Regions from separate parts of the Homo sapiens genome. Here regions 2, 3 and 4 are each linked to region 1. The links are contacts of gene promoters, found by promoter capture Hi-C in blood cells and fetal thymus (Javierre and others, 2016). All regions are on one chromosome and are shown on one strand. The core of a region is centred on a gene start or on the middle of the fragment in contact, and the rest is flanking DNA. Distances in the headings are between cores, read along the strand shown.

Region 1 (7,395 bases), core at 4,896-7,395:
TAGAAATCTACCTGGTATTCTATTCTGCTGCAGCTGAGCTGGCACCCAAATCACAAGACAAAGTTCTTCCCACTCTTACCTCCCCTTTCCACAGGCAGAGGAGCTTCTTTCCATGCCAGAGGAGCTTCTTTCCATGCCACCATCGCCATAGGCCCACCGGAGTACTGCCAAGCTACTGCTGATGTTCGCTTAAGGCTCAAGGGCTGTTCAGTCAGCTTGTGGTGAATACTGCTATGCCTGGGACTCACCCTTCAGGGCATTGGGCTCCCTTCTGGCCCAGGACAGGTCCAGAAATGCCATCCAACAGCCCGGTCTTAGAACCAAGGACCCCAAGAGCCCACCTGGTGCTCTACTCCACGGTGGTCACACTGGTACCTAAGCTGCAAGGCAAAATCCTGTTTACTCTTCCCTTTGCTTGAAGGAGTCTCTCCTTGTAGCCACCACTGCTGGGAATGTGCTGGGTCACACCTGAAGCCAGCATGTTTCAGAGTCTCACCCAAGTTGAGACTTGGTCCCTAGTGCCTTATTTAGTTCTTTTGGTGACGTCATATTTTCCTGGATGGTCTTGATGCTTGTGGATGTTTGTCAGCATCTGGGCATTGAAGAGTTAGGTATTTATTGTAGTCTTCACAGTCTGGGCTTGTTTGTACCCTTCCTTCTTGGGAAAGCTTTCGAGGTATTCACAGGGACTTGGGTGTTGTAATCTAGGTTTACAAACTAGTATATGCTGTGTAGTATATCCACAGCATATACTACCTGGGTACTGCTGCTGATTATTCATGGCTCTAGGGCTCTTTAGTCAGTAGGTGATGAATTCTGCCAGGACTGAATCCTTCCCTTCAAGGCAGCAGGTTCCCTTCTGCCCTAGAGTATGTTTGGAAATGTCATCTAGGACCTAGGGCCTGGAATGGGGGCTTCACACCTCTGCCTGGTGTCCTATTTTCCTGTGACTGAGCTGGTATCCAAGTTGCAAGACAAAGTACTCTCCTTTTCTACTCAAGTAAGAAGACTCTTTCAGAGCTGTGAGCTGTGCTGCCTGGGGTTAGAAGCGTGGGTCAAGAAATCCCTTAGATGTGCTGGCTACTGTCTCACTAGGTTGCATGGCCCCCGAGTCCACTGGCTGTGAGCCCAGCACAGCACCAGGACTTGCTTAGAAGTTGCAGTCCTTGTGGCTTATACTGCCTTTCAAGTTTATTTAGTACCCCAGAGCCCGTTAGCCTGTGGAAGCAAGGCTTGCTGAAACTTAAGTTGTGACTGCTGGGATGGGTGATTCCCCTCTGGTTGGGGCTGGTCTAAGTGCTCCTTCCATGGGTGTCAGCTGAGTTCTGCCCATATTGCTTACTGCTGTGATAGGAAAGCACTGAGTTCCAATGCAAAGTTCCACAATCGCTGTGCTCTTCCTCCCCCAAGAGCACAGACTCTCTCTTGGCCACTGCCAGGAGACTGGGGAGGGTGGTACTGGCAATTCAAGACTATCTTTCCTACCCTCTTCAGTGCCCCTTTCAGTGATACGAAGTTAAAACCAGGTACTTTGATTGCTCACCTGATTTTTGGTTCTTATAAAGGTACTTTGTAGTATAGATAGTTGTTAAATTGGTGTCTCTGCATGGAGGATGATCTATAGAGGCTGCTAATCAGACATCTTGCTCTGTCCCTGCCACTTGGTTTTATGTGTTCAAGGGAAAGTAGGTGAGAGATCCAATGCCATCTTCCTTTCAAAGCTGAAGGTGCTGACTATCAAGCTTGAGTTTCTAATCTGGTGCTTTCAGCCCTGGTCATGTGGCTGGATTTTCATAGTCACTAGGGCATTTTGACTTCCTAGCCATGGTTCTTCTTCCACTATATATATATGCTTAATATCCATTCAAACTCCTGAGTTTAAGCGGCTCTTCTGCCTCAGTGTCCAAAGTAGCTAGTATTACAAGCATGCACCACCATGCCTGCCTCATTCTCTCTTTTTCTGTTGTTTTAAATTTTTTGTAGAAACAGGGTCTCATTATGTTGCCCAGGCTGGTCTTGAACTCTTGGGCTCAAGTGATCCTCCTGCCTCAGTCGCCCAAAGCACTAGGATTACAGGTGTGTGCCACTGGGCCTGGCCTAAGGGGACCTTTGATTAATGTTTGGCCTGCATCAAACTGGGATGTAAGTGAGAAATAAACTTTTATTTTGTTAGAGCATTGAGATGTTGAGGTTGTTACAATATTTTAGCCTAGCCTGCGTCATGAGATTTGTTATATGGGTTGAAGGTTGACTATCCTCACTGCCTGATAATCTGATGTGCTCATCTCCCCAGGAAAGACAAACTGCTACATGGCCCTGATGAATACTTCCATTGGCTGCTGGGTACTCACCTTCCTGAAGAGGACCTGGCTAAGCAAGGTAATATTTGGGTTTTAGGCTTCTTTTTTTCTCTGGTTTCTTGGTTGATATTTTAATTGACAGAGTTTTCTTTATCTATGTCAGTGCCTCTAGGCAGACAATGATGTCTTATTCACTAGAAAGATTTTTCCTAAGCAGAAGTTGCCAAAATATGACAAACTAGGGGAAAAAGTTATGACTTGGGAAGGCATGATAAAAGGGTAATTTTCTTAATTTATAAAAGGATCTTATAAATTAACAAAAAAATAGATAAGTTGATTCAAATCAGAAGGGAAAAAAGATATGCAAACAGCCAATTAGACTCATGAATCCTCAACCTTTGATATGGTTTGGATCTGTGTCCCCAACCAAATCTCATGTTCAATTGCAACCCTCAGTGTTGGAGTTAAGGCCTGCTGGGAGGTGATTGGATCATGGGGCTGGTTTCTCATGGTTTAATACCATTCCCCTTGGTGCTATCATCCTGAGAGTGAGTTCTCATGAGATCTGGCTGTTTAAAAGCATGTGGAACCTCCCCCCTCTCTCTGGGTCCTGCTCCTATCATGTAAGACATCCACTGCTGCTTTGTCTTCCACCATGAGTAAAAGCTCCCTGAGGTCTCCCAGAAGCAGAAGCCGCCGTTCTTCCTGTACAGACTGCAGAACTATGAGCCAATTAAACATTTTTTCTTGATAAATGACCCAGCTTCAGGTATTTCATTATAGCAGTGTGAGAATGGACTAATACAGCCTCTCATCACCCCTCACTAATTCTACAAATGAAGATGCTGGGCTGCAAATGTACACATTACTGATAAGGAATTTCCCTGCTCCCCTGAAGGCACCCCCAACCCCAGCATTGGTGAAGCTTAAACAGGGCAGGCTATGATAGATAATGGCTGGTGAAGACAGCAAAGACTTGGCAGCACTCACCATGGCAAAGTTCCTCACTTGATGTCTATCCCCATCATTTTGCACATGAGGAGGTGGAAGCATGGAAAGGTCAAGTTACCCATCTATCTAGGTAACTATTTCTTCTTTGATGTCTCAAAGATACCTCTCACTCGCTGTTCACAATAGGCTCATCATCTTTTTTCCCAGACTATCTTCTTCTCTTGAATTCTCTTTTTTTTTTTTTTGAGACGGAGTCTCTCTCTGTCGCCCAGGCTGGAGTGCAGTGGCGCGATCTCGGCTCACTGAAAGCTCCGCCTCCTGGGTTCACACCATTCTCCTGCCTCAGCCTCCCAAGTAGCTGGGACTACAGATGCCCACCACCATGCCTGGCTAATTTTTTGTATTTTTAGTAGAGACGGGGTTTCACTATGTGAGCCAGGATGGTCTCGATATCCTGACCTCCTGATCCGCCCACCTCGGCCTCCCAAAGTGCTGGGATTACAGGTGTGAGCCACTGTGCCCAGCTTCTCTTGAATTCTTAATCTCTGAGAATGGTACCCCCATCCCACCCCAGACTTTTATGCCACAGAGCCAGGAGGCCCCGTGGGCTCTTCCTCTCCCTCTGGCTCTGTGTTCTGTCATCACTATCTCTTGTTAATTCTGTCCCCTGACCATCTCTCCTAACCACATGTCTATCTCCAGCCCCACTGTTATTTTTCCTTGATTTGGAATTACATCAGCCTGAACTAGGGCATTTGCAACTCATCTAACCATCTTTGGTGTTACTCTTTCTCAGAGCAGCCAGAATGGCCTTCCTAGCACCCAAGTCTAATCATGCCAGACTGTTGTTCAGAATTCTGAGGTGTCTCCACATTAAGTAGAGATAAGATGCCTGTTGATCTGACCTCTGCCCACCTGTCCTGCCTCAACTCCCGCCACCTGCTGCATGCACAGGTACATCCTAATACAGCTGGATTGCTGGTGGTTGCCCAAACATGCCACACTCTCTTGTTCCTTCCATTTTTTCAGGCTATTGCACGTGCTGCTCCTTTTGCCCAGAATCCTCTCCTTTACCCATCTCCAAGCCCCTCCTCATGTTCAAGTCTCAGCTCCAAAGCTCCGCCCTCTGAAAACAGCACTGTCCTGAGATTCAGCTGCTCTTTTGCCTCTGCATCCTCTGCATCTTGACCTTGCTTCTCCTCTGACATTATCCTCTAGACTTGCAGGGGAGGTGTCAGTCTTCTGGGGAGTCAGTGAACTGGATGGAAGGGCAGCTTCTTCTAAACTTTAAATCCCCAGTGCCAATCTAGGACGAAGCCTGGTGAATGATCAATATCTATGTGGTGAAAGAAAGAGATGATTAATCAATAAGACATTTGCCCTGTCTGGGAGCTCACGTATAGCGAGGCGATGGCTTTGTAAGCCCCTCACTCTGACAGCAGGCTTGTGGGCAGGGAGGACTCTGACCCTCCTCAGGAGTTGGGAGAGGCAAAGGGGGTCAGCTACAAGTGTACACACATCACATTCACCACACCATGCTTAAAAAACAAATCCATAAGTCGCAGCTGCCAAGCATGATGTAAATGTATGGGGATTGAGGGACTAATTCTGCTGGCCTGAGGTTTTTTCCTGGGTGGGGAGAGATTCAGGCCCTGTTTTGTCTTTCACTTTTCACAAGGAACAGCCAAAGGGAACCTGGCTCCTCTGGTTCTCCATCCTTCCCGGAGTCTCTTCCCACACTCCAGAACGGGCCCCTTTCTCTGGAGGTGGCCAGCCCAGATTTGGGGGGTGGCCCACTGGTTGGCCTCCTTAAACTTTCCTAGAACTGTGCCACAGTTTAAGGGACAAACTTTTGAAAAACAGAACAACAACAAAAAACTTGAAAGACTTCAAACCTTAATTTGTCTGAGAAAATCCACTGTTAACCCAATAGCTTGCTTGAATGGAGGTGTTAAAGATCAACAAAGCCAGACATTAGTTAAACCATGAAAACAGATTTTACTCAGTAACTACTTACAGTAGGAGAAAAAGCTGATCATTCTCATTTGTGCATAGCAGAATGGGCGTTTTAAAGGGTGAAGGAGAGAATAGGGCCGGGAAGCTAGCAGGGGATCAAGTGAAAAATCATGAAGGGGCGGTCAGTATTAATGACGGGCAGCTGTGCCTGGAGCTGGCCGTTATGAAGCTGGGATTCTATCCTCCCACAGAGACTGGGGGACAGAGGCCTATCCTCCCCATGACTGCATTTCAGAGCAATGGCTTTCAGGTCCTTGAGAAAGACACTTCTGAGGTGTAGGCGATACATATACATCTCAAAGCAACAGAGAAAGGATTCACAGTTGTAAGCCCTTTTAAGAAAATATCCTAAAAAAGGGAGGTCAGGGGCTTTACCATCGGGTGTTGGCTAGAATAAACGGGGAATTCTCCTGGCTGCCTTGAGCTTTCTCGGGAAGACATTTTACTGGGGTCGAGGTTAGGCGGCAGCGGAGGGTGGGGGACCTTGAGTCATGCTCCTATAAGCCACGCTAGAGTTCCTCGTCTTTGAGTGCAGAGGTTTAGACTGTGTCTTTGTGTGCAGAAAGTCCTGCAGTTCTCACAGCGACCTGCCAGAAAAAGTCGTTCCCAAATGTTTGTAAATCCTCCGTTGGGCAACCCGCCTTCACGTTCTGCGGTGATCTTGTCGAGCGACTAAGCGTGCAGTATTAGCAGAGAAGGGGGTGGCAGAGTGCTGGCGCTGAAGGTCATGTTGCATGGGTAACTGTCGTGTTGTAGGGGCGGGGAAGAGGGAGGAGACACTGACCACCCCAGAGGCCGCCCCATTAGCTCGCTTGCTTTGGGCGGCGTCGCTCCCACGGCGCCCAGGGTACCCCCGCCGCTGTCTGCCTGTCTTCCTCCATTACCGCGCAGGCTTGGTCACCGCATTAAGGCATTCCCGCTCTCCGCGGAACTGCTCTGCCGTCTCGGCGGTGAAAGTGTGAGAGGGTCCGTAGTTGGGTCAACTTTGACTCCTCTCGCCTGCCCGGATCCTTAAGGGCCTCCTCGTCCTCCCGGTCTCCGGTCGCTGCCGGGTCTGTGCGCCGGTCCGCGCCCGCCCTCGCTCTGCCATGGGCGCTTCCAGCTCCTCCGCGCTGGCCCGCCTCGGCCTCCCAGCCCGGCCCTGGCCCAGGTGGCTCGGGGTCGCCGCGCTAGGACTGGCCGCCGTGGCCCTGGGGACTGTCGCCTGGCGCCGCGCATGGCCCAGGCGGCGCCGGCGGCTGCAGCAGGTGGGCACCGTGGCGAAGCTCTGGATCTACCCGGTGAAATCCTGCAAAGGGGTGCCGGTGAGCGAGGCTGAGTGCACGGCCATGGGGCTGCGCAGCGGCAACCTGCGGGACAGGTACAGCACAGCGCGGGCGCGGGGCAGCGCGGAGCCTGCCTGGGATGAGGAGCGGGGGGGCAGGTGGGGCCCGATCTATCTGGGAAGGACTATAGAGGTTTGCCACCTGAGTTTCTGGGCTGACTGTTGGGCCGTTGGTCGTTTATCTGGGAAGGCCAAGTTCATGCCAGGTTTATTTTTGGTAAAGTAGGTAGGGGCAATCCCTTGCCCTTCCCTAGACGAGAGATTCCTCCTCTGTAACAGGAGGGGGTCTGACCTGTATCTCCAAGTCTCCTTAGCTCTAAAGTTTGTGATTCTATCCTAGTATACCAAAGTAGAAAAATAAAGCTATTGGCACTAGAAAGCAGCAAGAAAGAAACCAAGTGTTGTTCAAGGACATTGGCTTAGGCCTTGCTGGGCCTTGTTCCTCACATTTCTCCAATCCTGGGGGTGCCCTGGAGGCCTGATACACTTTGATGAAGGATGAGCAAGTGGCATGGGGACTCTGGGGCAGAGGTGATACTTGCCATTAAGGGAATAGTGTCCCCCCTTCTCCCATAGGCAGAGTTGTTCACAGCCTGGAACTTTGGGACTTTTGGGCCTGACACATAGACATTTCATACTTAGGATTAAGATGCCTTCTTCTTTTTTTTTTTTTTTTTTTTTGAGACAGAATCTCACTTCGTAGCTCAGGCTGGAGTGCAGTGGCACTATCTCAGCTCACTGCAACCTCCATCTCCCAAGTTCAAGCAATTCTCCTGCCTCAGCCTCCCAAGTAGCTGAGATTAC
Region 2 (7,395 bases), core at 1,121-3,620, 470 kb before region 1:
CAGGGGGGGATGCCTCTGGAGTTCTGCTACCATGGTTTCTGCGGCATGTGGGAGGATTGCATCAGACAGTGAATATCACTTATTCCACAGTCATAAGAAAGCACATTGCAAAAATGTGCAGGCCTTACATATCCCAGCATTGACAGTGTCTCTCCGAGGTCTGGGTTCAGGAGGTAGGAAAAGCACTGTGACCAAAATAACAACAGGATGAGTCCAGGTACCAATGTGAACTTCCTCCAGTATCCATTAGTGTGAGTCAGAGCACAGATGACTGTTGTTAAGAGAGAGATGTGTTACTGAGGAAGATAAGCAGCAGCCCCTTGCCAATCCTTAGCAGCAGCTTGAAGCGAAGGGGTTGAGTTGCAGGATGGGCACTAAACGCAGATGTGAGAGAAAGAGCAATGGACTTGGAATCATGACTTTGGGGAATTCATGTCACTTTTTTGGGACTTAGTTTCTTGGTTTATAAAATGAAGAGGCTGGGCTCTAAAGTTCATCCCAGGGATATGTAGGTTTTGGTAAGAGACTGGGAATGGCAAGTTCTGGGAGCTGGAATTGCTTAGAAGGAGTGGTCTGTGTAAGCACCCTAGTAAGAAGCTTGGGTCAGCAGGAGAAAATGTGAGGGTACTGGACATCTCTAAGGGAAAGTAAGGGGAGCATAGCAAGGGCGTGGAGAGTCCTTGAAGCCTTACCTCATAGCTGTGCTAAGGGTCATCCTTGAATTGAAGATTGAGCAGAAGCAAGGGCTATTTACAGTTATTATTCAACAAACATTTATGGAGTGCTTTTTACATTAAAGATACTGTAGTAAGCACAGTAAGGCAATAAGGACAAGTGATCCAGAGATTCACTACTTAAAAGCAGACAAACACAAATGCTCTAAGAGCAGAGTGTGATGAGTACCATGGATGGCTTTTGGATAAAGGGCAGTGGGAGAAATAAGGGAGAGATTAATTTAGATCCCTAGGGGTGTCCCTTGGAAAAGAAGTAGTGTGGAAGAGGTAGGAAAGGCATTAAACAAATTGGTTCTTGATTATAGAGAACCTCAAAATCCAAATAGTGAAACCGCCTTTGCAAAATTATGACTGAGATAGTGAAAGAGATGTAACTTAACCGACTCCATCTTGCTTCTAACCTCCAAGCTGTCCTTGTTCATTCTTGGGCGTAAGTTGAACTAACTTTGAGAGAAACTTAGTTTACAGTTTAAACAAAGACGGTAACAGCCTTTTCCCAAAGCAGACCTCCTTCTTACCCGGGGACTAGATTGCCTTCGTAGGACTAACATTAGCCACAAGATTAAAAATTATGGTTTAGGAGTCATGCAGCTGGAGAGTGTGACCCTCCCTAAACTGCTCCTAAGATCAATGCTTGAACTATTTTGTAGACCCTGCACTTGATGGATCAGCTGGCACCACCCAAATCAATAAACTGGCTCATCTGACCTTGTAGCCCCCACCCAGGAACTGACCCAGCACAAGAAGGCAGCTTCGACTCCCTATGATTTCATCCCTGACCAATCAGCACTCCTGGCTCATTGGCTTTCCCCCACCCACCAAGTTATCCTTAAAAATTCTGCTCCCCGAATGCTCAGGGAGACTGATTTAAGTAATAATAAAACTCCGGTCTCCCTCACAACCAGCTCTGCGTGAATTACTCTTTCTCTGGCAATTCCCCTGACTTGATGAATTGGCTCTGTCTAGGTAGCGGGCAAGGTGAACCCCTTGGGCAGTTACCATAGTATGGTCTGGTCTTTTTCTGTGTGCAAGGTATAACCAATTGAAGATATTTTGAAGAAGATGTAGAAGTATGTGGGATGACTGAAGGCAGATAGACCCCTCTAGATGTCACAGCAATATTCTAAACAAGAAGTAATAACATTGGAAAGGCAGTGCCTCTCTGGTGGCTGAATCAATAGAATTTTGGTATACAGTTAGATATAGGTGTGGGAAGGGAAAATATGACCCAAGGTGATGTTCAAGTCTTCAGTCCAAAGAATTGGAAAGGTGGCAATGTCATGTCAGCAACCAAGATAGAGAATGTAAAAGGAGGAATGGCTTTGGGACAAACAAGAATAGGATGAGGCTGGGCACAGTGGTTCATGCCTGTAATCCCTGTGCTTTGGAAGGAAGAGGTGGGAGGAATGCATGAGGCCAAGAGTTCGAGATCAGTCTGGGCAACATAGAGAGACCCCATTTCCACACAAAATTAAAATTAAAATTAAATTGTCTGGGCCTGGTGGTGCATGCCCATAATCCTAGCTACTTGAGAGGCTGAGTCAGGAAGCCTGCTTGAGCCCAGGTTTGAGGTTACAGAGAGCTATGTTTGTGCCACAGCTCTCCAGTCTGGGTGACAGAGCAAGTGAGACTCTGTCTCCAAAAAAAAAAAAAAAAGATAAATGGATAAATTCAGTGTTGGATTTGTTAAATTTGAACTGCCCGTGGAAGAGCTAGGTTTTTTTTTTTTTAAGTTATTTTTATAAACTGAAGTTCCAAATTGGGATTGGAGAGGCCAGAGCTAGAACCTACCTATGGAAGTCTTCCACACAGAAATTATATTGAAGGGAGGGGATGAAAGTGCCAGTGGATTCTAGATGGGGTGAGAGCAGTGAGAGCAGGATTGGATGAGGAAAACAAGGTGGGAGGACTATCTTTTTTTTTTTTTTTTTTTTTTGGTACAGAGTCTTGCTCTGTCACCTGGGCTGGGGTGCAGTGGCATAATCTTGGCTCACTGCAACCTTTGCCTTCCAGGCTCAAGCGATCCTCCCGCCTCAGCCTCCTGAATAGCTGGGACTATAGGCACATGCCACCATGCCTGGTTAATTTTTGTGTTTTTTGAAGAGACAGCATCTCACTATATTGCCCAGGCTGGTCTTGAACTGCTAAGCTCAAGGAATCTACCCTCTTTGGCCTCCCAAAGTGTTGGCATTACAGGCATGAGCCACCATGCCTGACCAACTGTCTATTTTTTTAGAGGTGGATGGAAAAAGAAGCTCTAGTAAAGGAGATAAAAAAGACATAGTCAAAGAAGAAAACTGTACATGGTAGGACCATGCTACAAAAGCCCAGTGAGGAAGAAGACATTTTCACAAAGGGGTAAACCTATTGTATTGAATTCAATAAAGAATTTAAGAAAGGAAAAGCCAAGAAGAGATGATTCCATTTGGTGAATAGGTAGTAACAAGTGATTGTCCAGTGTATAGAGCAGCCAAACTCTGTTTCTTTTGCAGAAAATTTGTAACCTTTCTTCAGAAGTTGATTATTTTTCTGATAGCCAGAGAAGCAATGGTAATCTTTTTCTTTACAACTAAAATAGAGATGGAAAGAAGTCTTTTCTTTTTGCTGGCATTGACCAGTTAGGAAAAGAAGAACTAGCTTCACTAAGCATTGTGTTTTATTGCTTTTTTGAATCCAAGAAAAAATATTTATATTTTCAGCATTTCCCAATATTTATAACTTTATTGGGCCAAAACCTACTTTATTTATGTATTTATGTATTTATTTATTTATTTTTGAGACAGAGTCTCGCTCTGTTGCCCAGGCTGGAGTGCAGTGGCATTATCTCAGCTCACTGCAAGCTCCGCCTCCCGGGTTCACGCCATTCTCCTGTCTCAGCCTCCAAGGAAAGAAGATATTAACACAGTTAGCTAACAAATATAAGTGCCATAGTGCTTTTAAGTCTCCATCTTCTTAATTTTAATGTGTTTAGGACTTGTCAGGTTAAGTGAGCCACCAAATGTCAATGAGATTTGATATTTGTGGAAGAGATTACTAGTTGCTCATTATCCATTTCCCCTTTTGCTTTAGCAGGAGAACCCATATATTATTGGGACACTTATGTGCCCAGATTTGAAGACAAACCACATTTTCCAACCCCTCTTGACTCAACGTATCCATACACTATGTTCAGGCCAATGAAATAGAGCACGAATTGTTGGAATCATTGGGAGGGGTTTCCAGAAGTTTACTTACAAGAGAGACAGCTAAGAAAAAGTCTTTTGGCTTCTCCTTCCCCTTTCCTGTTTCCTACCTAAAATTTACCATGGTTGTAGCCCCAGCATCCTTTTTAGACAATGAATTGACCTAAACTGTGGTGGAGCATGAAGACAGGAGCCTGAGTCTCCTCTGCTTTGTGGAGCTGCCACGCCAAGCTTGGACTGCCACATCTGGACTTCTTTCAGGTGACAAAAGAAATCTGTGTGTGTTCTAGTCACTGCTATTTTGAGTTTTCTGTTATTGTAGGTGAACCTAATCCTGATATAATATGACCTTAGTAACAAGAGAAACTTTTGATCAAGGAAATTTGCTCTATTCTATGTATCTTGTTTAAATAAAAGCATTTTTATTTCTCTGATTGTCTTTTTCTCTAGCATAATTCAGATGAGATTAGACCAATTACCTGGATATTTTAAATTGTTTAAATATTTTTGACTTCATTTGGACATAAAAATATGCCCCAGGTGACCAAGTATTTCTTGTTTTCTTATTTTTAGCACAACTGAAATAGACTCTTAAAAGATTCTTTGAAATAAAAGAATGCCCCCCTTGTTGTTTAGCAGCCGAGTGATAAGTTCCAATCAACAATTTCATAATGGAAAATCGAGGGAAGGTTAGGTGAAGGGGAAACTGCTGGTTGGAGTTGTATATAAACTAAGACCACAAATATGAGAAGCCATTGCCTTGTGGTTTGTGAATAAAATAGCTCCGTCCAGCACCTTCCCTGTGGTTTCCTTACTCTGGACTACACTTTCTTCACAGTTTTCCCAAACCTTAGCTTCAGTGAAGCTGCAACCTCCTGATCCCTTTCTTCCTCTTTGATCTTTTTATTTTCTGAATATGTTACTATCTCCTTGTTATCTTTCTCTATTCCTTCAGTCCCTTCCTCAAAGTACCTTGTTACAGACTCTTTTCTTTCTGTTAATGGTTATCACATTTGGTGGATAAGCTATGAACAGAAAGGATAAATATTCTTTTCCTCTGCTTGTTCACTAGTCAGCCACCAAGTTCTATTGATTTAACTTCCAAAATATCTCTTGGATTGATCCTCTCCTGATATCCTCATTTCCACCTCCTCATTGAGCTGTTTCGATAGCTTCTTCGGTCTTCCTGCCTTTGCGTCTGGGCTTCCCACCTCAACCATCCTACACATTGCTGCCAGATTTGTCTTCCTGAAGCATAATTCTAATCATATTACCTAGTAAATCTCCCCATAACACTTTTGTTTCTTCTTTAATTTATTCACTCATTTAAGAACTATTCTCTGGGTACCCATTAGGTGCTATGAATGGCTGGAGGCCCTAAGAACATCAATATAAGTAAGACCCAGTACTGGTGAAGGTAGGGGTTACCAATACACAAGCAGGAATAATTACCAGAGAACAGAGCAGGAACAAAAACCATGGCCTTGGGATTCAGAAAAGACTTTTAAGAGGTAATATCTGAGCTGAGTCTTGAAAGCCGAATAGATTTTAGCTGGCTGACAAGGGCGTAAGGGAGAAACGAAAAAAATACCCTAGCAGAAGAAACATCATGACAAAAGGCTTGGGGGGCAGCAGTAACTTGTGTGTACAAAGAAACAGAAGCAGCGGTTTCTAAAATGTGAAGTGTGACACTACGGTTGGGGCTGAGTCTAGAGAGGTGGCCTGAGTGATTTTAAATTTTCTCAAATTTCATTTCCTGTAGAATGTAAGGACTAAGCAACATTTCTTAGTTTGCTTAAATATGAGAAATGTTTCCTTGGGTTCATTTTCTTCACTGATACCACTTTTCACGTCTTGCTTGCAGTCTAAGGAGCTGCAGGGTAGGGACAAGGGTTTGTAGGTCCGGAGTCAAGATGTGTTCCCAGCCCAGCTCCCCCTGATGCACTTGATCATTTACACTGGACTCTAGATTTGTGTTGAAGGTTGACTTTCTGTTCCCCCTTGGTGAAACCTTCACAGACTACTAGATGCCATAGCAGGGGAAGTTTCCCTTGAGTGCTTTGCTCAGGGTCTCCCTCTCTTAAGCTCTCCAATTTCCCCTCCTTACATTGCCTGGCATTAGGTGACTGGGTGTTTTATTCTTCTTGATGCCATTTCTTTCCAGCAGATGCGGTCAGTGTTAATTGTCCTGCTAGTAGCCACTAATTTGACTTATATATAATCCTTGCATTTTAAAATCTTTTTTTTCAAATTCAATCCTTTCCACTGTTCTAGTTACTTGGATCCCTCATTTGTGGTCATATTCTATTCTTTTCTATCTTTCTTGCACTGAAAGGCACTTGGAAGATTTGAACCACTCAAGACTATAGACCTACACAAAGGCATGCTGGAACATTCTAACGTGGCTAATTACGGAGGATCTGCTGTCCTCTTTTCCACCGAGCAAACTTTGAAATCCTTCTAAACGCTGTTCGAATATCACCTCCTTTGTGAAAAGCCTGACTCTACCAGGCAAAATTAGCCACTTTGGACCCCCATAGCTTTTTCTTTTTTCCTTATAGAGACAAGGTCTCGCTCTGTTGCCCAGGCTGGAGTGCAGTGGCATGATAGTGGCTCACTGCATTATTGTAGCCTTGAACTCCTGGACTCAAGTCATCCTCCTACCTCAGCCTCCTGAGTAGCTAGGACTACAGGCGAACGTCCCACCCCCCAACCCATAGCTTTTTAATGTATGTGTCTATTCTGAAACTTAACACCTTGACTTCTTGTATTATGGTTTATCTGCATTACTGTCTCCCCCACTAGATGGTGATATCCTCAAGGGGAGGAATTGTGATGTTTACCCTTGTGACATTCATTCATTCAACACATTTTGAAAATATATACTGTGTACCAGGAGCTAAACATACACATGACTCATACTCAGTACAAAAGAGACACATATGTGTACTAATAGATAATACACTCCAATGACAGACAGATAAACAGGCACTTATACTTCATTTTTGAAAATGCGATGCTGGGAACAGTACAGAGGAACAGATAAGAAGGTCAGCTCACTTTGGAGATCAGTGAGGGCTTCCTGTAGGAAGTACCATGTGAGGTAAGAGTAGACCAAAGCCAGAAATAAATGGGATAGAGCGTAGAATGGAAGCAAGGAGGCCAAGCATTCTTAGATACAGAGGAAATAGCTCAAAACTCCAGAAGTGAGAAGACACAGTGTATTTAAGAATTAAATACTGTTAAGCCTGTCTGGAGCTAAAAAAAGACTGTTAACATGAGACTCGAGAATTAAGGAGGGACAAAAATCATCAAATGACTCAAGGGCACAGACTATGGTTTATTTAAATTTCTTCCTCTCTCCTGTGTTTGTACTTATCAAACAGGTGATTGGTTAATAAATGTTCATGGAAGGGAGCAAAGAAAAAAACAAATGGCCCAGCACTCCAGTGGGTAGTATATATTAGAAATAATATGAA
Region 3 (7,395 bases), core at 3,588-6,087, 450 kb before region 1:
AGGCTGGAGTGCAGTGTCACGATCTCGGCTCAGTGCAACCTCCGCCCTCCGGATTCAAGCGATTATCCTCTCTCAGCCTCCCAAGTAGCTGGGAGTACAGGTGCACGCCACTGCATCCGGCTAATTTTTGTATTTTTAGTAGAGATGGGGTTTCGCCATGTTGGCCAGGCTAGTCTCAAACTCCTGACCTCAGGTGATCCGCCTGCCTCGACTTCCCAAAGTGCTCAGATTACAGGTGTGAAAAGTGCATTCCTAGATAGTATTTTTCCTTGGGGATTCATGAATGTAGGTCGTTCAGTGTTTTCTGACAATGTGTAAGTATCATTCTCCTCTTAAAGAGTATATAAAGTTGTTATAGTTTCTTAGGTTAAGAGTTACTTTACTTTATTATTAAAAGGTATTACATTTTCTTCTGTCTCCTGTATTTGATGTTGAGTAGTCTGCCGGAAATATTTCTTCCTTTGAAGATGTTTTTATCTTTTCTCTGTGGTTGCTTTTAGTTTACCTATTTGTTTTTGGTGTTCTGAAAATATTTTTTATGATGTTTCTATGCATAAACTTATTTATATTATACATTTCAAAATTCTCTTGGCTTCTTGAGACTGGGTATTCATGTCTTCTCATTCATCTTAGAAAATTCCTAGTCATTAATTCTTCATTGCTTTTCAAAATTGCCTCTATCTCCTTTTGGAACTTCTATTTAACATATGCTGTGTTTTCACTTTTCATTCTCCTGTCCTTTTTTTTTTTTTAATCTCTTTCTTTAGTTTGAGCTGTAGTTTGGGCAATTTTCTAAGACTTACCTTTTAGTTCACAAATTATCTCTCTAGCTATATTTAACTTACTATTCATCCTATTTATTGTAATTTAAAATTTTGATTACAATGTTTTTAATTTTTAGAAATTCATTTGGTTCTTTCAAAAAATCTTCCGTTTTTAAACAGTATAATTTTATTTTTTACGTTTCAATTTCTTATTTTATATCTTTAATACATTTAAATATACTTATTTTATGATTTCTATTAGATTGTTTCAATATCAAATATTCTTGGGGATCTTATTCTAACTCTTATTCAGGGTGGATTGTTTCTTCATCTGTTTTGTAATTTTGGACTGTTATCTAATTTTTAGGAAAATTTATGTGTGGGAACCCTGTGCAGCCTGGGTTGAGGGTGTGCTCTTCTGGAGTAGGTTTTGGTTTGCCCTGGCCAGATGTAATAAGAGTATCAGAAGCTTGAACCAATTTATATGTTAATTGTTTGGCTTGCTTGCCGGGGTGGTGAGGAGTTAGATTCCCATAGTTAAATTTTCAGGGAGACTTTTTCCCACACAGAGCCAGGACTACTCAGACGAGCTCTTTTATTAACTCCCATTAACTCCCGGGGCTGGAAGGTGAATTGTTTCCTAAACTATTCTTTCACTAATGGAGCAGCCCTTTTAGGATAATGGTTTTATGAAGGAGGTTCTCAGTTCCAAACTCTGTTTTGGGCAAGCTTAAGACATAAGTGCCATTTTCCAAATGGGCATTAAAGCTGCCTGCATTACAAAGGCTGAGACAGCCTGTTGCTCTGACATAGTCTCTGTCAGCCCATAAACTTGCTTCTCTGTTTTTCAGTTTTCCTTTTTCATTTCTATCACCTGTGATGTTCCCTTTGGTTTGGTGCCCTTAGCTATGATTTAAAAGAGTATGTGTTATATTTTATCCAGCATTTCTACGTGCTTGTAGCTGAAAGTTTGTCAGATATTTGTAGTTTTCCTTGTAGCTAGAACCAGAACTCTCTCAAATTTCTTTTTAAGAGCTTTACATTTTGCTTTTATTTAAAATAAACTTTGAGGTTTTTTTTTTCTTTGGAAAAAAATATAATGAAAGAGCAAAGCACAAAAATCTGAATGAAAATTAAATCAGTACATATGTTTAAAAGACATAGCATCCTTGCCTGCTTTTTGTATTAATCAGCTTGTTCTTCTAAGTGCTAAGGAGACACATAATGTGATTGAAGGAAATAGATTTTGCCTTCTGGTTTTAGTATTCACCCTCTCTGTTATTCTCTAACTCTGGATATGTAATTTATCCTCCGGCATCCATAGTTTTCACCTGTAAATAGGAAAAATGATACCTGTTTAATTACTTCTTAGGGTTATTAAGAAGTTCAAATGAAATAACATATAGTCGGTGACAGCTTTCTGTAGACTGTAAAACATGAGGCAAATGATAGTTACTGCTAAGTACTTTCAGGTAGTAATGGGATTGGTAAGTTGCACTTGCTTTTATTCCCTACAGTTGCATGTTTCTGAGAATTGTGGGTCTGGCCCACTCATACGCTTATATTTGAATTCCCGAACTTTTTTTTCTATAAAAGAGAAAGGTGAATTAACCCTTCATAGAACACTAAAACTATAATTAATTAAGTGGAAAAATCTTATTCCCTATATCCATAAAAGATAAATTCCATTGAATTAAAGAAAAAAATGCCCCTTTTTCTCATTCAAGAGCAAAGACTTCTATGATTTCAGCTGTGTGCCACAGTTTTTATCATTTGTCTCTGTACTAAGTGGTTTCACATTCTGTGCAAGATATGTGCCAAGGGAGTTGAAAATCTTGCCCACTGCTGTGTACACCAGGAAAATAGTACTAAGTAGTACTAGTATTTTTTAAAATTATAATAAAATACTCATAACATAAAATATACCATCTTAACAATTTTTAAATGTACAGTTCAGTAGTGTTAAGTACATTCACATTATTGTGCAACCAATATCCAGATCTCTTTTCATCTTGCAAAACTGAAACTGCTTTCCATTGCAGCTGAACCATTAACCATTTTACAACTCTCCATTTCTCTTTACCTACAGCCTCTGGCAGCCAACCACCATTCTACTTTGTGTCTCCATGAATTTCACTATTCTAAGCACCTAATGTAAGTGGAATCATACAGTATTCATTTTTTTGTGACTGGCTTATTTCTCTTAGCATAATGTCCTTGAGGTTCATCCATGTTGTTGCATGTGTCAGAACTTCTTTCCTTTTTAAGGCTGAATAATATTTCATTATATAGGGACATTTGTATTACTTCTACCTTTTGGCTATTGTGAATAATGCTGCTATGAGCATTAGTGTGCAAATATCTGTTCAAGTACCTGCTTTCAATTCTTTTGGGTATATGCCCAGAAGTAGAATTGCTGAATCTTGGGTAATTCTATTTTTTTTTTTTTAAAGATGGAGTCTTGCTCTGTTGCCCAGGCTGGAGTGCAGTGGCACAATCTCCGCTCACTGCAAGCTCTGACTCCCGGGTTCACGCCATTCTCCTGTCTCAGCCTCCCGAGTAGCTGGGACTACAGGCACCTGCCACCAGGCCTGGCTAATTTTTTGTATTTTTAATAGAGACAGGGTTTCACCGTGTTAGCCAGGATGGTCTCGATCTCCTGACCTCGCGATCCGCCCGCCTCGGCCTCCCAAAGTGCTGGGATTATAGGCATGAGCCACTGTACCCGGCTGGGTAATTCTATTTTTAATTCTTTGAGAAACCACCATATTGTTTTCCATAGTGGCTGCATCATTTCACATTCCCACCAACAGTCTACAGGGTCCCACTTTTCCCACATCCTTGCCAACCCTTGCTATTTTCTGTTTTTTTTTTTTTGTTTGTTTGTTTAATAGTAGCTATCCTAATGGGTATGAATTTTGATTTGCATTTCCCTAATAATTAGTGATGCTCAGCATCTTTTCATGTACTTTTCTGTCAATTTGTATATCTTCTCTGGAAAAATGACTACTCAAGTCCATTGCCCATTTTTTAATTAGGCTGTTGATTTTTTTGTGGTTGTTGAGTTGTAGGAGCCCTTTATAGATTCTGAATATTAACCTCTTGTTGGATATATGATTTGCAAATATGTTTTCTCATTCTGCAGGTTCTCTTTTCACTGTTGATTGTGTCCTTTGATGCACAAAGTTTTTAAGTTTAGGAGAATATTATTTGTCTATTTTTGCTTACGTTGCCTATGATTTTGGTGTCATACCTAGGAAACCATTGCCAAAAGTAATATTTTTTGTATAGTTTCACAACGGAATCCCACATGAGGAACAGAACAATCAGTATTGTCTAGAATTATAATTATTTAAGGGTCTATCTAGAATTCAAATAGGCTTGGTGGCAAAAAAGAAAAGGAGTTGTTCATTCTTTTAGGCAACTCGGTACTTCCACCCCCTCTATGTTTGGGCATTTTCATATCTTATGAATATTGTGGCATGTGGAGTCTGTTCCCCACTCTAAATGCTGATTAGGCCAGACACTTCATTTCTCAAACTGCCTTTCCCTGGGCTGTAGGCATATGACCTTTGCCCTGCCAATCACATACACCTATACCGGAGATCCTTGCAGTGCCAAGCATTATAGAAAACCTGAGTTCTTGGGCACCAGCAGGGACAGCTGAGGTAATGGTAGTGCTTTGTGTCTATGCTTGCTATGTGTGGCAGAGGTTGCTGCTTGTCTATTCTTTCCTTCATCCACAGTAATGAAACCTCTTCTTAACTGGGCACATGCCATTCAGGATAAAGACTATATTATCCCGTGTCCTTGGGGGCCAGGTTTGGCTAATTCTGGCTAATGAGCTGTAACTAGAAGTGTTGCTTGACCTCTTCTGAGATCTTCCTTAAAGGACAGCTGGAGTTTCATCCGTTCCTCTTTTCTTTTGGCTTGAATGTGTATCAGGATGGCTGAAGCTGGATTAGTACCATAAACAATGAGAAAACTACAGTAGTGGAGGCCCAGCATAGGGGAGCAAGAAAATAGAAGGTGCCTGCATCTCTGGGGCCTTCAAGCAACAGAATTTACCGATCAGTCCTGGACCTCTAGACTTTCATATGAGAAGGAGAAGTATACATCTGTCTTATTTAAGGTCGGTAATTTGGGGTCTCTGTTACTTGCTGCTGAAGTTAATCTTAATCAATGCATTGTCAGTGGTGCAAGCTGCAGCGTGAAGGTGTGCAGGCTGCAGGGGGCCGGTTCTAGGGTGTGATTTGAGGCTTCACTCCTGATTCATTGCCCTGGTCTGGTTTTTCAACCTTAACTTGTGATTCTATGACACACATATCATTTTAATGAATTCCATTCTCTTTAAATCAGTTGGAGTTGTTTTTGATTATTTATAACAAAAAGTCCTTACTGATATGAGGTGAAAATTTCTTAAGTCTTTTTTAGATAATAAACTGAAGTTTGTTTTTCACCACAAATTTCAGCCTTAAAGCTCAGCCACATTTTCAGAAACTCAGGGTGAAAGTTCACACAGAGCATCAGTTAGAAGAAGTTAATTGTGAAAAAGGGATCATCAATGGCCATCCTTTAAATGATGAGACCTCCCGTATGTTTTGAATGATTTAATTTCCAACATATTCTCTTCTGAGTCTTTGATATACGTGCTGACTCCATGAAATAAAGTCTAAGTGTGAAGGGAAGAGGAATTTTAATGTTTATTCTATCTCAGCACCTTGCTAAGTGGTCCTCAGCCCAGGCATTGCTGAGCTGGGGCTGGATTTCTTCATCTTTACAATAACAGAAGAACGCACTTACCAGTGTCTGAGTTATTGCTTACAGACAGGAAGGTTTCAAGCCTCAGATGCTGAGCAGTGAGAATGGCCAACAAAAAGCATGAAGTTAGTTTTGCCTCAAATAAAAGACTTCTTTTGATTCTTAAAATCCTTTCAGAATCTCATTTGGATCTCTGAGGGACAATTATACTTTCTCATCATCTAGTTGTTCAACACCAGTTTGAGCTATTAGTGTACTCATTCATTCAACCATGCCTTTGGCAAACGCTTTTTAATACCTACTCTGTGCCAGGCATTACTTGGCCATCGCTTTCTCCCTGCCCCTTGTCTCAATATCCATTCCACATTCTGAATGAATTCAGTGGATGAGGCTGAAGAGTCTGAGGGAAGCAATGTGATTAATTTATGCATCATGTATCAAGTATGACATGCAGATGCTGGGACGCGGCACTTGAGAACACAGGCTGCCTCCCTTCCTCAGCTGTTGCAGGCGTGCACTCTGTCAAAATGCATGTCCAGAAAGGTCTAAGTCCCTGAAGTGTGGTGTTTATTAAGAAAAGGTTCACCTTTTATATCCTCCAACATTTCTAGTAAAATCATAACCATCCTCAATTTGCAACCACAGACTTCTGGGAATACAGCTATTATTGGCTCCAAACCCTCTCCTCTGTGATTCATAGATTGCTATCTGTGAGGGCAAGAACTTTGCATTTTATTCATCTTTGCATCCCCAGAGCATAGCATGTAATAATCATTTATTATTTATTTATTTTTTTTTTTATTTTTTTTTGAGACGGAGTCTCACTCTGTTGCCTAGGCTGGAGTGCAGTGGCACTATCTCGGCTCACTGCAACCTCCGCCTCCTGGGTTTAAGCAGTTCTCCCTGCCTCAGCCTCCTGAGCATCTGGGACTACAGGCACCCGCCACCAAACCTAACTAATTTTTGTATTTTTAGTAGAGTCAGGGTGTCACCATGTTGGCCTGGCTGATCTCGAACTCCTGACCTCAAGTGATCTGCCCACCTCGGCCTCCCAAAGTGGGGGGATTACAGGTGTGAGCCACTGCGCCAAGCCTAAATAATGTTTTCAAAAAATTTAAATTATTTCTCACAAACAATGTGCATACAGTTTGTTGTCTTTACTGTCTACCCCACACAACTGACCTGGTACCCCCTAGTACTCACATAATTCAGCTTAGAGATCAGTTCCTCAGGGATACCTTCTCTGATACCGGAGCTAAGGTCTGGGCCCCCTATTATGAGTTCAGAGAACACCTTAGGTTTAGGTTTCCACTTTATAGCACTTACTATACTTTTATTTATGTAATGTTTGTGTTCTGTACTGGAATAAGACCCCCAGGAAGTCTGTAACATCCTCTTATTCTCAGTGCTATTATTTATAATCAATGCCTAGGACACAATAGATGCTCAGTAAACATTTCCAGAATAAATGAGTTTTGATCAATAGCATTTTTGAGGCTAGTCTCCCTCTTTTTCTCATCCTCTACTGTACACAGTGATTTACATCCTTTCCAAACTGGTGTTTTTTTGTTTTGTTTTGTTGTTGTTTTTTTTTTTTCCCTACTGTCACTTTCCAATTCCTACCACCTACTGGTTGAACCCATGATGTCTTGGGGACTAGATGTCAGGGTGGCTACACATTTCCATTTTGGAGAGCAGTTTCCTATTTTTAGCACTTCTCCAGGGCTTGGACTGATAAGGCAGTGGAGTCCTTCTGCCCTCAGAACTTTGCCTTTTAACTTCGTTCCTTGGGAATGTGCCTGTCAGGCTCTGTGGAGAAGTTATTCCTCCTTTTGATGAGAAATTGAGACTACCTGAGCTCCTTCCCTGC
Region 4 (7,395 bases), core at 2,431-4,930, 410 kb before region 1:
GCAACCTTCAACCCATGGAAAGTCCTCTATACTCAAAAGCACAGTCCCTTTAGCGCGTAATAACAGGACATCGGTTGTTTTCTCAACTGAGTTAGAATAACACCACATAAGAGGCATAATCCATCCAGTCTAGGGCAAGCGTTGCTAAACTCAGTCCAGTTTATTTTCAGTTTTATTATCTGTTTGAAGTAACACCCATGCCTGCATATCCTTGCCACCATCTTGAAGTCTCAGCAGCCAACCTCCTTGAGCAATTGCATTTCCAAGAACAAGCAATAATTTGTAGGATGATGTGTGTAAGTTCATCTTTAGCCACCCTCTCCACAATGAAATAGAAGTTTCGGACCATGCAAACCAACTGAACCTTTTGCAGCTGGAGAGTTACAAACCGTACATCCCACAAGAGGGCCTCTGTTCATTTTTTTTTTTTAAGTCTAAGGCTCTTTTGATGACAAATAAGAAGACTCTGCTAAATAACTTAAGCAGAAGAGCAGATGTATGGAGGATTTATTAGAGGGCAACAGGACCCAAGAGCAGGAGCTGAGGCTGTTTCACAGGGACTTAAGCCATTAGCAGCCAGTTTCATTCATGTTCTTTCTCACTGTGCATCAGCTTCCTCTCTCACAAATTGCCCTCTGCTTGTCCGTGCACAAGGTGGAAAGAAGACTGCACAGTATCCAAGTTTATATTGCTTCAATTCAGGCAGCCATCATTAATTTGCAAATGTCTCTTAGCCCCATTTTTAATTCTATAGAGAAATTGGTTCATCTTACATGGCTACTCTTTATCTTATTTACTATAGCCAGGGAGAAAGTATCATGTGGCATAAATATCTGTGCCAGTGTGTACCTTGTAAATTGAGGTGTTATTTCTATGAAAATTGAGGATTCCAGGGCAAATGAATCCTTGTCCAAAGGTAATTTTATAATCTACTGCTGATAATACAGAATATGCTCAAAAGTTTCATCTAGGCTGAGGTGGGAGTATTGCTTGAGGCCGAAAGTTTGAGACCAGCATGGGCAACATAGATCCCTTCTCTACAAAAAATTAAAACATTAGCCAAGCATAGTGACATGCTCCGTAGTCCTAGCTACTTGGGAGGGTAAGGTGGGAGGATTGCTTGAACTCAGGAGTTCGAGACTGCAGTAAGCTATGATTGTGCCATGCTGCACTCCAGCCTGGGTGACCGAGGTAGACCCTGTCTTTTTAAAGAAAAACAACTTTGATTTGAGATTTTTCTGGATTTGATTATCTTCATTAAAGTGTCAGGGATCATCAGGTTCAAGTTTGGTTTGAAGCCCAAATTCCTTGTTTTTCCCCCTCCCTGTGGAATCCCTGTAGAAAGGAAACATCTTCCAAGTGTAGAGCCTCGGAGTTAAAGCTAGTCCTGAGATGACAGCTGGGAAAGGTCTATGTTCCACTCTCACATCTAGCTTCAGGTGTCTTGGTCCTTTTTTGTAATACTTGCATCAACCCCAGGCCTTGGGCAGTTCTTAGCACAAAGTAGGCCCTAAATTAATACTTATAGAATGAATGGATCATTGGTTGATTTGAACCATTCCATTTGCTGGCTTCCAGAAAAACTTCCAGTTAACTGGTGATTTGCTCAATGTCCCAAGCCTTTCTTTTTTTTCCATACTGTAAATCAATAGACTTTTAGTTGAAATTTTTTGTCTTTAGCTTTCTGGAACTTTCTTAACTCTCTTGACAAGCAAAATTGTTACTTCCTCTATGCTATGATACTAACTGGCTTACATCACATCATCAATAAATCTTTCATCATACTGAATTTCAGTTACTCACACTCAGATCTGCTTACCCAACTAGATTATTAACTGCTTAAGGGTAGGCATTCTAGTTCTATATGTCTAGTGCATGTTGAATGCTCAAAATATGTTTTGTGAAAGTATGAATCAATCAATCAATAAGCTATGTTTCCTGGGATATACCAGCCTTCAGGTAAAAACTGAGTCATTGTAACAATAATCAAACAGTTCTTCTCTGGATATGCCTTTTTCTTATTACACATCCCTCAAATTCTAACCAGATATTTTTTATACTGTACTGGAGTGAGTATTGTATATTTTCTCATATATTCATTATTTCACACACACACACACACACACACACACTTTTCTTTTGAGGCAGAGTTTCACTCTTGTTACCCAGGGTGGAGTGCAATGGCATGGTCTCGGCTCACTGCAACCTCCACCTCCTGTGTTCAAGTGATTCTCCTGCCTCAGCCTCCTGAGTAGTTGGGCTTACAGGTGCACACCACCACGTCTGGCTAATTTTTGTATTTTTAGTAGAGATGGGGTTTTGTTTGGCCAGGCTGGTCTCGAACTCTTTACCTCAAGTATTCCACCTGCCTCGGCCTCCCAAAGTGCTGGGATTACAGGTGTGAGCCACTGCGCCTGGACTATTTATTTTTTTGAGATGGAATTTCGCTGAGTGCAGTGGCACAATCTTGGCTTGCCACAACCTCCACCTCCCAACCTCACCCTCAAGTGATTCTCCTGCCTCAGCATCCCGAGTAGCTGGGATTACAGGCACCTGTCACCATGCCTGGCTAATTTTTTGTATTTTTTAAAATAGAGACAGGGTTTTACCATGTTGGCCAGGCTGGTCTCAAACTCTAGGCCTCAGGTGATCGACCTGCCTTGGCCTCCCAAAGTGCTGGGATTAAAAGCATGAGCCACCACGCCTGGCTACATATATATTTAGATGTCTGCTAAAGCCAAATAATATACCGGGGCCTGGGAATGCAGTAATGAGGATTGATGATGTTGATGATGATTATGATGATAACGATGATTCCTTTAGTATTTGAGAGTCTTAATAAAACAGCACTTCTCATTCCTGAGTTATGAATCAATCTAGAAATAAGCCAAAAGAACAGCATATAGAGTCAAAGTTGTAACATTTAAAAAATTACTGATAAAGCTTATATGGGAAAATGAGCCTTATATCTATGGCCAAGGGGTCTTCTGAATACTAACCCCCCAGAACTATTTAGGCTCACCCACTCAATCAAGGCAGTGATTCCTTACATGGTCTGTCCCCATGAGATCAGCCACAGACAAACAGAAAGTGTACTATCTGGGGGAAGGCTAGCCCCCAAGAGAGAGGGCAGGGAAGAATTAATTGATGGAACAAGATCCTCCTGGTTACCCCATGGCTATTGCAGTTTTCCTGCCAGCCTTGGTTTTCATCAGCCATCATTCTTATAACCAATACTGAAAGCCACGTTCCTGTTGCCAATATGCCTGGAAGATGAAGCCGCTGCTGGTGTTGGCCAAAGGCACTTCCACTGCTGTGATTGCCCAGCAACACCTGTGCCAAGGCTACTGATGCCTGGTCAAGGCGATAATGTCTGAGCTGACTCCTGTGGTTGCCAAAGTCAACAAAGTTGCTGAAGAAGTTGTTGGCACCAGAAGGTTTGCATGCTCAGCATCTCTCAGAGCTTAAGAGCTCTTGTGGTTTCTACTTGCTATTTTCCTGCAGCCCCTAGGCATAGATTTCAGGCTGGGTCAGTGAAGGCTGAGCAGGAGGATACTCCGAGGGACAGACACAGGCCAATGACAGAGATGACTCCAAATGAGGTTATTCATCCCATCTCAGAGAGATGCCACCTGAAGTGAAAGAAGACAGCACTCACCACACAGCCCTTTTCTTGTGTCCCTATATTGGACCACATCACTATACTAAATTATCAATTACTAATACTTCTAAATCCATTCATGATCTTGTGAATAATACCATTATTTGCAATGTGTTTTGTGTTAATGTTAAAGACATTAATATGTTAAATGTAAATTTGCGAAATGCCTCTTTATATAACCCAGTTTTGGTATTTCTTAATGTAATATTTCAGGAGTCTCAAAAACAAAAGGAGTTTGGTGCTTCTTCAACCTCCAAGGGGGCTCCCATCTCACTTCTTTTGCCCTTTTACCCCTCCTACTCTGGACCACTGTCCTTGTATCAAACTTGTTTGCCTTAGAAGCTCTCTTTCCTAAGAAAGGTTCTTCTCCGGGAGGTTCTTCTACCTTTCTCATAAGTAAGTCTCTGTTGCTGACCCATGAGTTTTTGCAACAAGCCTTGACATGCCTGAGTCCTAGAGTGAACCCAGCTTAGGCTCATGCTGGGTTCCCTATATGTATAAGGAATGAATCAGGAAGGGCTTACCTGCATTAATCCAGGAGCTTAATTAAACTAACAAGAGCAACCATCACAGGGTGGATATAAAGAGGAGCTTGTTTCTTGGATTTGTTTCCATTCTTCCTCCAACGTTAGCAACTGTTCAATATTTAGCCCTAACTAAATCAGCACATTTCAGTAGTCACACCTAGAAATCTTATGAGTACATGCGGAATTTAAGGAATGTTTAGAAACAAATGTTGTTGGGGACTTGAATTAACAAAGCTTGCTGGGGAGTTCTGGATCTTCCTGCATTTTGTTTCCCTCACAGAAGGTGTTCTTCTGTTTATGTTTAGGACTCAAATGTATTCTTGATTTGTGTTCCTCTGAATTCCCTAACGAAGGTGTTTATTCAAATGCCTGGCTGGGCCCGGTGGCTCACGCCTGTAATCCCAACACTTTGGGAGGCTGAGGTGGGTGGATCATGAGGTCAGGAGATCGAGACCATCCTGGCCAACATGGTGAAACTCCATCTCTACTAAATATACAAAAATTAGCCAGGCGTGATGGCGGGCGCCTGTAGTCCCAGCTACTCTGGAAGCTGAGGCAGGAAAATCGCTTGAACCAGGGAGTTGGAGATTGCAGTGAGCTGAGATCATGCCACTGCACTCCAGCCTGGGCGACAGAGCCTGACAGGCTTGTGGCAGTAAAGAGGAAGTAGATAAAACTTGCGTCCTTGGTTGAAAAACAAACACAAACATGTATCTCTTTATGAATGTGTTGACATAGCACACTTTTGCCTGCTGTCCTGCTGCTGACCAATTAATCTAACCAGCTTCTCTTCCACATGCAGCATCATCCCCCATCTCTGAGTGAAGTCCACAATTAATGAGATTCTTTGGGTGGTTGTTGCCATTGCTGACTCACTGGCTGTTTTAGCTACAATGCCTCACCAGTGTATACCTGCCTCAGGCACAGACGGAATGCTGGGTGGCCTGATGCTATCTTAGGTAACTAGAGCATTGCTTCTGGAAGTGAGAAGCTGCCTTTAAATTATTCAGTGAGCCTTCTTCCAGTTCACAGGCCTTTCACAACAGTAGGGAAAGCAGCAGCAAAGTGCCATGATGGCCTGGAAACAGCAGGATTTACAGGGAAGGCAAAAATAGGGGAGGAGGATTCCACAGCTGGAATACGCCAAGCAGAGACTAGAGTGTTGCAGAGCCTGCACCTGCTCACCTCTTTTCCAGGTGGGAATGTTGGAAGAGAAGTGGAAAGGGCGTAGTGACTCTCAAGCAGGGTTACTGCCACCTTGGCGACATTTGTTAGTTTGCGTGTTAATGTGTGTATTTTTTAATTTTTATTTTTTAGCACTCTCTGATAAGGAGATAATGTGTGTTTTGTTCATTTGTCTGATTCTTGTTAGACTATTTTCTACTTGAGAGTCCTATCTTATTGATGTCATTACAATGTTATACACTCAACTCTGGCACTTAGTTACTCTTAATAAACTTATATGGAATGAAATGTGCTCTGTTTGAACTTCTCCTTTTAGCTCTATTTGTATGCTGAAAAAAAAAATCACAAAATAACTCTAGTTTTTTCACTTTATTACTTAGTTCTCAGTCCTGCATATACTCGAAGTCAGCTTTCTTTTCTCTGGGTTGAACAACCACATCAGATGCCTGGTAGTCTCAAAGGGATTGATTACTTGAGGATAAATCCTTAAATATTCTTGAAACAACAGAGATTAAAGCACACACACGCATATATATGTGTGTGTATATCCATATATATAGATATATATAGATTTTCTTTTTTTTTTTTTTTTTTAGACAGAGTCTCACTCTGTTGCCCAGGCTGGAGTGCAGTGGCACAATCTTGGCTCACTGCAACCTCCTCCTCCCAGGTTCAAGCGATTCTCCTATCTCAGCCTCCCGATTAGCTGGGATTACAGGCACATGCCACCAAGACTGGCTAATTTTTTTATTTTTAGTAGAGACGGGATTTCTCCATGTTGGTCTGGCTGGTCTCGAACTCCTCACCTCAGGCAATCCACCCGCCTCAGCCACCCAAAGTGCTGGGATACAGGCATGAGACACCGTGCCCAGCCAGCACTCCCAAATTGTATTGGCCACCATGTTAAGTGCTTCTGGGCACTACAGATCTACAGATCTGCTACAGACATTCTTTTGTCGGGAAGGGAAAACTTTTCCTCTAGCCTCTTTAGTGACAGAGTAATGAGTGAAAAAAACAGTTTTAGTTACACACATATGCATGGTTCTGGGTAAAGTAAAATGTGGCTCAAGGAGGCAGCCAGAACTTAGTGTTTACATGCCTTCTTAGGCTAGACAAAGAAAAAGAGGTTTGGGGCTTGCTGAGGGGGTAAGTTATGCAAGGTGACCAAGGGCTGTGTGGAAACAAGAGTTGTTTATCAAGGTTTGTTATGCAGATTTCAGGTGGTGCCTTCTCCATTGATAGGAGTTGCAGCAGCCATCCTCCTCCTTCCTGGTTTGGGAGAGGGAGACACTTTTGCAAATGTAAATTTCTTTTATAAAATGTAAGCTTCCTTTAAGAAAGGGAAATTTATGCTCTGCTTCAGAGCTTTTTCTGGGTATGATGTTCCTCAATTGCCTTCAGCTCAGAATAATCCTTATGCCAAAAAGGCCTATTTTGGGGTGGCATATTCTGGTCTCCTTCACTATTATAGTTCATTCTACATCAGGATAGATTTTGAAAAGTAGTTGTGCTTCCCTATACACAATCAGCACACTTTGGAAGCAATAATACTCATTTCTATAGGTCTCTGGGGTTGCTAGGGTGCTTCACTGGGCAGAGTCCAATAACCTCAATTATGGAAGCCTTACTCTATGTCTTAGAGTAAAATCATTTTCACCCTTTCATGATGGGCAAGCAATAGGCTCAGGCTCCATTGCATGTATCTCAGTATGCGGGATAGCACAAACAGGAAAGAGAACACGGCAAGTTAGAGGAATAGAGTTCAATATAACTGGAGTATTGAGTGCAATCTGAGCCCAGGGAGAGCTAAGGGTCAAAACCAGATGTAATGGGTATTTTTTGTGTGCATCCCTGGCATCCAATCCTTCCTTTCCTGTCAATAGCCCCCTTTTTCATTTTGAGATTCATCCCTTATGCATTTCATTCCTTGTGGTCTAGATGGAGCTCTAGGTCTGGGGGTGGAAATTGGATTGAGGCCTGAGTCAACTGGCATACCATGTTTTCTTGGCACAAGAGTGGGAT

What was found. The method cuts DNA at HindIII sites, captures the fragments that hold promoters and counts their contacts. A CHiCAGO score of 5 or more calls a contact.
Region 2: a contact is called between a fragment that was not itself captured here and the fragment with the promoter of MTARC2 in region 1, in 3 of 17 cell types (M2 macrophages, M1 macrophages and megakaryocytes). The highest score is 8.4, in M2 macrophages.
Region 3: a fragment that was not itself captured here is called in contact with the fragment with the promoter of MTARC2 in region 1 in 1 of 17 cell types (M2 macrophages); the score reaches 5.2 in M2 macrophages.
Region 4: a contact is called between a fragment that was not itself captured here and the fragment with the promoter of MTARC2 in region 1, in 1 of 17 cell types (erythroblasts). The highest score is 5.0, in erythroblasts.

What each region holds. Positions count from the first base shown.
Region 1 is chr1:220,742,177-220,749,571 of GRCh38, forward strand. It overlaps MTARC2 (mitochondrial amidoxime reducing component 2), which reads left to right and starts at 6,146. Exons shown (of 8, transcript NM_017898.5): 1 at 6,146-6,627. The coding sequence starts at 6,356. LOC124904516 (a long non-coding RNA gene) reads right to left here and starts at 6,639. Exons shown (of 2, transcript XR_007066884.1): 1 at 5,643-6,639; 2 at 2,144-4,587. The HindIII fragment of the contact is 9,208 bases long and covers 3,224-7,395 here.
Region 2 is chr1:220,274,513-220,281,907 of GRCh38, forward strand. No RefSeq gene overlaps it. Among named protein-coding and RNA genes, the nearest start is that of RAB3GAP2, 5.8 kb to the left of the region's middle. The HindIII fragment of the contact is 3,550 bases long and covers 596-4,145 here.
Region 3 is chr1:220,289,013-220,296,407 of GRCh38, forward strand. No RefSeq gene overlaps it. Among named protein-coding and RNA genes, the nearest start is that of RAB3GAP2, 20 kb to the left of the region's middle. The HindIII fragment of the contact is 6,693 bases long and covers 1,492-7,395 here.
Region 4 is chr1:220,332,452-220,339,846 of GRCh38, forward strand. No RefSeq gene overlaps it. Among named protein-coding and RNA genes, the nearest start is that of RAB3GAP2, 64 kb to the left of the region's middle. RefSeq lists enhancers at 3,440-4,639, 4,042-4,549, 6,073-6,580, 6,581-7,087. The HindIII fragment of the contact is 1,479 bases long and covers 2,942-4,420 here.